Regions from separate parts of the Homo sapiens genome. Here region 2 is linked to region 1. The links are contacts of gene promoters, found by promoter capture Hi-C in blood cells and fetal thymus (Javierre and others, 2016). All regions are on one chromosome and are shown on one strand. Each heading gives the region's core, a stretch centred on a gene start or on the middle of the fragment in contact. The rest is flanking DNA. Distances are from core to core; before and after follow the strand shown.

Evidence for each region. The method cuts DNA at HindIII sites, captures the fragments that hold promoters and counts their contacts. A CHiCAGO score of 5 or more calls a contact.
Region 2: a contact is called between a fragment that was not itself captured here and the fragment with the promoter of KIT in region 1, in 1 of 17 cell types (neutrophils). The highest score is 5.4, in neutrophils.

The regions. Positions count from the first base shown.
Region 1 is chr4:54,654,952-54,660,088 of GRCh38, reverse strand. KIT (KIT proto-oncogene, receptor tyrosine kinase) reads right to left here and starts at 2,132. Exons shown (of 21, transcript NM_000222.3): 1 at 2,008-2,132. The coding sequence starts at 2,074. RefSeq lists a silencer at 2,553-2,847. The HindIII fragment of the contact is 16,971 bases long and covers 1-5,137 here.
Region 2 is chr4:54,941,360-54,946,605 of GRCh38, reverse strand. No RefSeq gene overlaps it. Among named protein-coding and RNA genes, the nearest start is that of LINC02358, 98 kb to the right of the region's middle. The HindIII fragment of the contact is 4,216 bases long and covers 1,390-5,246 here.

The DNA.
Region 1 (5,137 bases), core at 883-3,382:
ACTCAGAACATTGGAGGAGAATTCTGGACCCAAAGGATCCTTCATGATGCAGATGCCTCCTTGTACTCTGGAGGACACTGCGTTTCCCAGAATTTAAGCAACCTGCCCTAAGCAACCTGGCCAAGGGCACGCAGCCAAGAAATGGCAGAGAAACCGAGAACCCAGGGGACAGAGCAAGGCTTTGTCGTTACACCACACTGCCCCCCCAGGAGACAGACCTTAAAATTCCCTTTGCCAAAAATCTATTGGGGAGAAGAAAACCATTGATTCTTTTAATTTTTTAAAAGGGAGATATTCGATGTGGTCTTTCTAGTCTCCTACTAGGTTCTAGTTCACATAGCTTAACTGATATTAAAAAGGTCAAGGCACAAAAACATAAAGACCAGATGTGTTGTTTTAAGCTAGGTGATCAAATCCTCCAGAGAATCCGAACACTCCCTCGTGACCCCTGCTGACCCCTCCTGCTGCACAGGGGTCCAGATGCAAGGCCTCTCTGCCCCCCACAGGAAAGCCCTCACAATAGTTACAAGTCCAGGACGCTGCAGACTGCGCCTGGAGACTTTATAGAGAAACTGACCGGTAGTCGACAGTCTCAAAACCGTTCATTGCGCCGCTTCCTTTCAAGCGCTTGATTCCAGCTAAGACTCACTTTCTATCCTTACATCATCAGGGTAACCTTAAAGGTTTGTTTTAAAAAATGACCTGGGAGATAGCAGGGCTTCAGGGGTGAGCTGGGCGACCTGCACTCGCCCGCACCAGCGACACCTGGAAAAAAGGGAACGGGAGGCAGGAATCTGACCAAGGGGCTCCAGCAACCTGCAAATCCTTCACCTAAGACCCAGTTCCCGCGCGGATATACCTGGATTTCTGTTATAGCTTTAAGAACTGAGTAGGATTTGCAGAAAGTTCCACGCCATCTCCCACCCCACCCCCAGGCAGCCCTGAAGTATAGAAGTCCCGGGGGCGGGGAGGCGGGCGGTCACGAATCTCAAAAATTTCCGAAGAAAACAGGACCTGCGAATACAGGTCGCAGACACCGGGAACTAGGGGCTTTCAGAACCCGCCAGGCAGGCCGGGCACTCTGGCCGGCGTGCTAGGCGGTTGGAGTCAGGGAACGCAGAGTCCCAGCACGCTGTCCCTTGCCTTCCCGGAGCAGGCGGCAAACACAGCCTCCAGCCGCCCCGGGGCGCGCGGCAGGAATGAAACGGCGCCGCGGCAGAAAGGGGCGAGCACGGGATGTACGAAAGCAAAAAGTCTGCAACCTAGCGGCTGCTTTCCACACGCCCTGCCCAAGTTGTCCCTGTCGCCACCACCTCCAGGCTCGCGGGAGTCCGGCCCCACAACAGCCCCACGCCGCGCACTCCCAGCGCAAAAGCCTAACCCGGAGGCGGGGAAACGCCGCAGCCTTCGATTGGTCTCCACGGGTGGCGCCGCGAGCAGAGGCGGCAGCGGGTCGGTCCCCAGCTCTGGGCACAAAGAGCGCCTGCGGTTGGAAGGCAGTAGCCGCAGAGCAGAGAAAGGGCTCTCTAACTTTGCCCTCAGCGCGGCGGAGAACCTGCAGGCAGGTCCTCCCGGGCGCCGGTCACACACACGCAACTTTTAACAAAAGGAAGCTGCGGCCGCGCCTCGCACGGCAAGAGAAGGCGCTCGGTGCAAACCCCTGAGCCCCCCGCCTCCGCCCCCCGCGCAACGTCGGCACAAAAGCCACCCCAAACTCGCACGGAGCCTGCAGCCTCGCTCACGCCTAACCCCCTCTTGCTGTCCCCATTCCCGAAGAACCCCGGATTCGCGTCCCCCACCACCAGCAGCTGGGGTCTCCTCGCGCAGGTGAGCGAGGCAGGGCGCCGGAGAGTCCGAGGGCCACCTGGAGTCTCCCCGGAGGCTGGAACGCACGGGCACTGAGGGCCCGCAGTCCTCTCTCCGGATGCACCCTGGCGGGTACCACCCTCCCAGGCACAGGCTTCGCCGAGTAGTCGCACGGTCGGGGTGCCAGCCGCGGTGTCCCACCTGTCTGGACGCGAAGCAGTAGGAGCAGAACGCAGAGAAAATCCCAGGCGCCGCGAGCGCCTCTCATCGCGGTAGCTGCGATGGGATCCGAGCTCTGGTCCACGTTCCAGCTCTCGCCCAAGTGCAGCGAGCGCGGCAAAGCCGAGCCCCCAGAGCCGCGAGCGGCGAGCAGCAGCCCCTCCTCCCAGCGCCCTCCCTCTGCGCGCCGGCCACGCCCCTCCTCGCCTCCCCTCCCTCGCGCCCGCCCGGGTCTCGCTTCTTCCCGGCGGCGTCTGGCCCCTGCTCTTTCGACGTGTTAATGCCGGGGGGCCGTGCCCGCCGGGAGGAGGAGGGCGCGCGCGCCCTCTCTCCCCGCTCTTGACTCCGGAGCCCCTTTCTCTCTCCACCTTTCCACCCCTGGGATGTGGACGGCCAGGCTGAGGCCGTTCCCGGACCAAGGAGGTGCTGCCCGCTCGCTTTGTGAAGCTGGGCACCACGCACACGTTAGGGCACGGGCCCGCCACCTGCCAGGTGCTCCCCAGACAATAAAGGTCGACTGCCCGCCCCTCGAGCACGTTCGGGCGGGAGGAGGCTGGACGCCGCTGCTCGTGGAGGTGGCATGGGGATGGGGAGGGGAGCGTTAGGAAATTGAGCCCCGACATTCCCCTCCAGGCCTGTTAGGAGCTCCTGGCACCGCGGTAAAGGCTGAGCCCGGTTTCGCTAATTGTTTCTGCTCAATTTCTCCACCTGCTTCGTAACCTGTAGGAACACAGTGGGTTCCTATTGGTCGGCGTGGCCTCCGCCCAAGAAGCCCCTGCCGGGACTTGTGTGGAGACAGGGGCGATGGAGGGCGCGTGGCGAAGTTTGCTCTGGGAGCCCAGGTTTTCATACACGTTTTCCCCCCTCCCCCCAACGCTGCCAACCCCAGTAATGATTTCTCTGCCTCTGTAACAGACGACAGTTTTAGGGCTAGGGCTCTTAACTGCCCTTGCCGGTCCCAGGAGCAAAATAAAAGTACAATGATTCTCTTAAGCCCGATTTCACTGCCCAGAAAGTGCCTTACCCACAGTCTCATGGTGGATCCTTGAACGGAAAGCAACAACAGTATCTGTATAGGGGTTAATAGTTCTTCCCCACAGCGACTCGTCTTTTCATGCTCACGATAACAGCTTTGTGAGGAGGGTAGAGCAGGTATGTTTATTATTGTAGTGAGGGAAGACCCAGGGCTTGAACACTTATTGGAAGACCTACTCCAAGAAAGATGAGCTTTCCCTATGCATTCTGATAAACTAATAAGACATCCCTCCTGAGAGCTTAAGAATGGAAAAATAAATGGCAGATGCCCATCAGAAAAAGGGATAGAACAGATACACCTAGACTCTTCTCTGAAGTATCATCCAAAATTTACAGTTGCCCAGCTGCCCCACTTCATTTAATATTGAAAGCTCTCCTGTTGTTTAATAGTGTGAGGACCCAGGTTGATGTAAGAAAAATGATTTTTAAAGCTAATCACTTAAAAATTATCAGTGCTAGAGGGTGATCAAATGATCAATGTGTATAATTGCCTCTCTTTAAATGTAAGTATTTACTCACTCAGCAAGCATTTGTTTAGTGTCTGCTGTGAAGCAAGGAGGAGCTAGGTACCAGGAGTACTATTATTAATAGACAGATATGCAGATGTGGCCCCTGCCCTCACAGTCCTTATAATCAAGTATGGGGACCTACATCCCAATCTCCCAGCAAAAGGTTCGAGTCATGCGGCTGTAGGAGAACTGAAATACCAAAGGTCTCTGTGCTCTGGGCCATCAGATCTCATGTTTTTCTTAGGATGACAGATAAAAGATACCACTCAAAGCAATCATAAGTTTCTGGGATCTTGATTTATTTCTAAAATTCATTTTGTATTGAGAAAAAATCACTATGAGTTAAAATATCAACATTATGCCTGAGAGAGAAAATTTACAATTTTCTTCTTCAATCAGCTGATATTGGAGAGGATAACATCTTCAAAAGAGTGGGTGAAAAGAGACCATATTGCAATTTAATTCTAGGCACGGAACTTCTATCAGGAAAAAAAAAAACTGAATAGGGAGTTATACCATGTTGGACCGTCATTCCTGTTTTTCATTCAGCAAATATCTTTTGAGCACCTAGGTAGGCATAAGACCCACATAAATGAGTAAGACAAAGTCTCTGTCTAGGGGAATTCACAGTCCAGCAGGGAAAATAGGTACTCAAGTAAGAAACTATAATATCTGCTAACAGAGCTTATGTTCAGCCAGTACACACCAATTTGGCCTTATTGGTTGACACAATATTGAAATCCTTCTGTACTGATTACAAAAAAAACCATACCCTAAAATATCTCCCAGCCCAACCTTGAGACACGCTAAATCTCCTTAGATCCAGGAATTAAAATTTTAATGCTGGCCACAACAGAGAGCCTCCAGTACTTGTACCTTTAGGGTTGTTAGCTGTTTTTAATAATACCCACTGCCTGTTACATAAAGAAAGGAAGCATATATATAAGGCACTATGAGTGGACATATATGCTGTAATATATAAGGAACTATATTATAGATCAGCAGTGTCCAATGGAACATTGGCAATGATGGAAATGTTTTATATCTCAGGTAGGATGTATGGATTAATTCTATACTGTATTTTGTGATAGTCCTGGGCATGTTCAGGGATTGTGCTTTATGTATTTCATTGTTTTCATAATTCTTTTAGCAAGGACTCTCGATTGCAACTTATAGAAGCAGCTTAAATTAAGCAAGCAAACAAAGAAGCCTAAATGTATTGGCTCTTATAACCAGAAAGTCCAGGGACAATAGTGTTTCAGACTTTCCTAGATCCAAGGACTCAAAGTTATCAGGACTTGAAGGGCGAGTGTGTGTGGATGCATGTGTGCACAAGTGCACGTACACTTTCCTCCACCTTTATCCTCAATACTTTCCTGTGTTGTTTTGCCAACCTTGTATACACTCAGGGCAGCTCTAGGCTTACAGCTCACTAGTACCAACGGAAGTAGAGTTTTCCTGCCCCCATAAACATCTCCTGTAAAAGTTTATGGGAGAAACCGAGTCTCACTGACCTGGCTTAAGTCATGTGCCCATTGGGAAGGAGCCAGAGGGATGGAGTATGCTGA
Region 2 (5,246 bases), core at 2,248-4,747, 290 kb before region 1:
CATCTGGGCTTGGGGGTGGAGCTGGGGAGTTCGGCATCCATGGAGAGGCAGCTCTTTTTAGCCAAACGTATTGAAATGTCCTGATGTGTGCTTCCCAGCCGATGTCAGCTGCTAATCCGTATGAATTAATGCTGTAATAATTGGGCCGTATTCAGCAAGCACTAATTTCTTTCACTACATCAAATCAAGCCTCATGATTGTTTCGAAATAAACATGCCATACCCAGAATGTTGAATCTCCACTCCAGCAGCTGGGTTCCGAACAGATCTGGAAAGGTCTGGCAAGGAGGCTGGGTTGACCAATGGTAGGACTCATTCCTGAGAGTGGACTTCCAGACACTATCATTTTAGACCTGATTGGACCCAATTACATTTTAAAGATGAAAGGAAGCCAGGTTTTTTTTCTGCACAGTGTTCAAATTCACTCAGGAAACATCCTTCAGTGCTTCCGTCTTCTTCCAGAGCCTACACCTAGACAGCATAAAAGAAAACAGCCTAGCCGCTAATATCTCCAAATGAGCTGTCATTACCAATGCCTTGCTCATGGTGTCACTGGAGTGAGACCATGAGAGAGAATATTTCAAAGATTCACAGGTCAGACTGCAAATAAACCTCAGAGGAAGTGTCTAACAGACACTTACAGGCAAGAAAACAGGAAAACTGAAGCAGGAGAGGGCGAGAGGGCAAGGAGCGCGGGATGCTGGCCTTTACACTGCCTGCAGGAGGGGGAAAAGAACTAAATCTAGGATGATGAGATAGGCGGTAGACAAGACTGATGAGTTATGCTACAAAGAGTGTGGGGTGACTCTCCAAATAACATATTTAGCAGATCAGTGGGAATGTAAGATGTCTCACTGTAGTCAACTGGCGATGCTTTTAGTAGAATCACGGATGTCAATATTGCAATCTCCCTTCTCTTTCACTCATACACTCTCATGTTAATGAGCACCTTCTCCAGGCCGGGTCCTGTGCTTGATCCTGGGGAACAAAGCAGATACAGGTCCTGCCTTCCCTCCCCTCCTCTCCTATCCTTTCCCATCCTGTACCCTTCTCTTTCTCTCCCTCCCTCCCTCCTCCTCTGCCAGATCCTTCCTTCTTCCTCTCCCCTCTATGCCTAGGGTCTAAATAAATTTGGGGGAAGATTAATATTCTGTTCAGTGGAACCATTGTTTGCTAACCACTTACTAATTAATTTTCCAAATAAGCAATGCAGGACTGAATTGCACATCTTTTCTCACAGCAGTTGTTATGTGTAGACATAAGGATCTCCCCGCTCCCCACCCTGGGGTGCCTCCATCAATCTCTCCCCCCATGTTTGCTGCTTCGCACTCCACTCCCCATGAGCTGCTTATCTATCCACAAGCTTATAATGTCAGTGCCTTCTAAAGCTTCTTTAGAGTTCCCTCCTCTTCCCTTCTGTCCTCATCCTGTCAGTCAGGATGAAGAAAATTAAGTTGTGTAAGTCTGTACATTTCTCTGTGATCCCAGTTTCCAGGCCCTAGAGCTGTCTGGGAGCTGCTAGGTCACCTGGGTCTGGATTCAGATGGGAGACGTAAAAAGCCGCAGGAGCTCTGCGAAATAGGTGCCAGTGTGTCCCCAAAGCTCCAATTTTCTAGTCCATAACTTGGAAAGCAGAAAGAAAGCTGTGAATCAAAGCTCCAAGGAAATTGTTTATAGCAATGGTGTCAATGAACCAGAACCGAAAGCAGGATGAGGCTCCCAGGCCACCTTCTACTCTTAGGAGCTGTGCTGCAACATACGGTGTGTAGGTCGTGCACTGCACAATAGGCTCAGTGGAGAGGGCAGCTCCCTTTCAGCTCTCCCAGCCCAGCCAGGGGCTCTTTGCAGAGCTGCATTTACCACATGGAAGGGGGATCTTGTTATGCACTTGCCTAGCTGTTGGCCCTAGGGTTCATCTGCTTAGAGAGGCACCTTTTTTTCAGATTCACACAGAGGGACCATATATGCCTACTCTGATTACGAGAAGAACAAAATTACAAACCGATTGACTTTTTAAAGTGGTTTTTTAAAAAATTAAATTGCTTTTAAGGTGTGTTTTAGAATTATTATACATTCAGTGCTATCTCTAATACCTTTCCTATTTGATACTATAGTGATAATAGCTCCCATTTATGTGAACACTGTAGATGCCTGGTGTTGCACTGGGGGCCTGAATCTATTATTTATGATTCTTCCTCCCCTGCCTGCTTTTGCTGTGGTTCACTACAGGGAGAATATTCCTCCTACTTCATTGAATTTGGCCTTGGCCCTGGCCCTGTGATGTTTTGGCCCATGGAATGTGGGCAGAAGTAACAATGTTCTGGTCTTATAGACCAGCTGAGTCTATAAGAGGCATGGTGAGTTGCTGCCAGTCCTCTTGAGGTTCTATCTTCTGCCATGAGAGAAAAGCATGCCACCAGGCAATTGTCACCCTTTGACCTGAAATCGAGACGTGTAAAGCAGACCTGAAACAGACCCAAGCCTAGAGGCCAGAAAAGCTCAGGCAAGAGCAGCTGGGTACATCTAAACTACAGTGAATGGAAACATGAATACAACATGAATATTCATTATTTCAAGTCATGGAGAATGGGGGAATTATTTGTTATGCAGCATCACAGTAATAGTGGACACCTATGATGTGTTTTTTTTTTAAAAAAAGACAAATTGTCACAACCACTCTTTATGTACAGTATTTCCATTTTACATAAAGGAAAACCAAGGGTCTGAGAGGTTAGAAAACTAGTTTAAATTAATAACTGGTATATCCAGTATTAACATCTAGGTCTGCCTGATTCCAAAGCCTGTTCTCTTTCTACCTCCCTCATGTCATATCCAGAATATTGACACTATGCCACCTATAGAGATCCTTAACTAGCAAAAATTATGCTATTATAGCCAATAACTTTGCATTCTACTTACTAGAGCTAGGCAAGGAATCATTTTGCAAGATGGCATCCAAAATGTCTCTCGGCTCAACTGTCAGTTCCATAAAACGTTCTATTAAGCATAATTCATCCTTCCCTTTCTCCTCTATGCACTCCACACTTCCTGTTATTCAGAGTTGTAAGGTTTTAAAGAGGATTCACATTTCTCCAGGCCGAGATTACCTATGGCTGCAATAGAATTTGACTTGCATTTTGTTTGTTGTCAATACAATAAGCCAGAAACAGATGCAGATCATTGAACTGAAGAATGACTTTTCTCTCTTGATGGCACTTTGAGCAGAAAAAACATCTTTGTCTGATGTATTGTTAAATGAAAAAAAAAAAGCAAAGTGCAGAACAATGTGTATTGTACATCATTTGCATATTTTAAAAGCATATATATGTGTATGTATGAATGTTTATATCTACATAGGATGTCTCTGGAAGAATACTCTAGAAATATAATGGCAGTTGCCTCTGGTTTGGGAACATGGTGGCTGATGGGGAGTGAGGGTGGGAGAGAGAATGATTTTTCACTGAATAGTCCTTTAAAGTTTTTTAAATTGGTGTTCAGGTTTATATTATTCCCCAAAATAATGAATACATTTTTTAAAGACAGAAACTACTTCTTCTACGGCCTATCCCTCTTCACTTTATTTAAGCTGTGTCTATTGTGTCTCAGACACACTGACTTTTTGAAGGGACTTGAGAGGAGGAGCTAGCCCAAGAGGAAGAGGCCCTTTCTGGCATGTTCTCTTCCTCTTGATAGTTGAGGTGCATATAAACATCTTCAAAGTCTCCACGGACAACAGAGACAACACGAACTGGAGCCCACTGGCTCCCACAAGTGAAAGTGATTTTCTTCATTCATGACTCAAAGGCTGTAGAGTAAAAAACAAGAACTGATCAGCTGTTTTTTTGTTTTGTTTTGTTTTTTTTTTTTTTTTTTGAGACGGAGTCTCGCTCTGTCGCCCAGGCTGGAGTGCAGTGGCGGGATCTCGGCTCACTGCAAGCTCCGCCTCCCGGGTTCACGCCATTCTCCTGCCTCAGCCTCCCAAGTAGCTGGGACTACAGGCGCCCGCCACTACGCCCGGCTAATTTTTTGTATTTTTAGTAGAGACGGGGTTTCACCGTTTTAGCCGGGATGGTCTCGATCTCCTGACTGTTTTGTTTTTAAAGACCAAACACGTCATCTTATCTTGTTCTGAGTGAGACAGCTACATGATGAACATCCTAAAAGTTGAAGACCTTGGATTTCCACCTGCAAGCCAACGATGTTTTTCTGTTAAATTCTAATCATATTATTAGAGTTTATTAATTGTTTTAACAAACAGACATCTATGTCCATTCATTTTTTTTCAAAGACAGGGTAAATAAATCAACTTTCAAATCATGTCCTTCTGCAAACACCAGCTGCACAGGAAAAGGAAGGCCGCCTGTTAGCAGCCTCTCGCTGAAGGGCTAGGCTGAGGCTGTCGGTGTGCATGCCCAGAGCAGAGCTGTCTGTTAATGAGTCCTACAGCTCACAGGAAAGAACCTCAGCGGAAAGCAAGAAGGCAGAACAATTGTGTGAACTTAGCTCCCTTTCTTATTCTCCAAACATCTGGCCACTGTATGTGTCATTTCTTTGATTCAAACTTGTTCTGGCGTTATTGATAGGGAAAATCTCCACCTGGGGGCTGGAAGGGACTGCTTCTTCATCAAAGAATAGTTAGCACAGACTCACTTTTAATAGCAAAATAATAGAGCAAGTCACTTATAAACCATGTTTCTGAAATTGCCCAGCCATGCTCTGCCAACTCTTTATGGGGAGAATAAGACAAAAGCTGGAAGCAAAGAGAGAGTAAAGAAAGCCCTTACGATTAGGGGTGAAGAAAAAACAAAGCCTGCAAGACGCCATCTTGGTGTTGGCTAACGATGGGGAAAATCTCTGCTGTTTAATATAGTGCATTTATAAACACAGATGTCAGGGACGGCAAGTTTATTTTTGTAGTTCTGCATCTTACATTTCCTCAATTGATTCTCTTTCTTTTCTTCTTCTACGTCAGAACAACCAAACAGGATTCAAGTGATGCATTTGGATGGCTTGCTTCCCTGAATTGTGTCTATATCCATTAACAGGGCAGACACTTAGTTCCACCTGTAGACATGACAGTTTTGTCATCTTCACAACTGTTCCCATTGTCCTGATCCTTATTTCATTTTACTGGGCTACCTTGAATAACAACCCCCTGGGCTTATTTTACTGGCAGTTAAAATCAGTTTTGGTAGTAATTTTGCCTGGAAATCAGCTATTAAGTTTATGTGCTTGTCAAATTTTAAC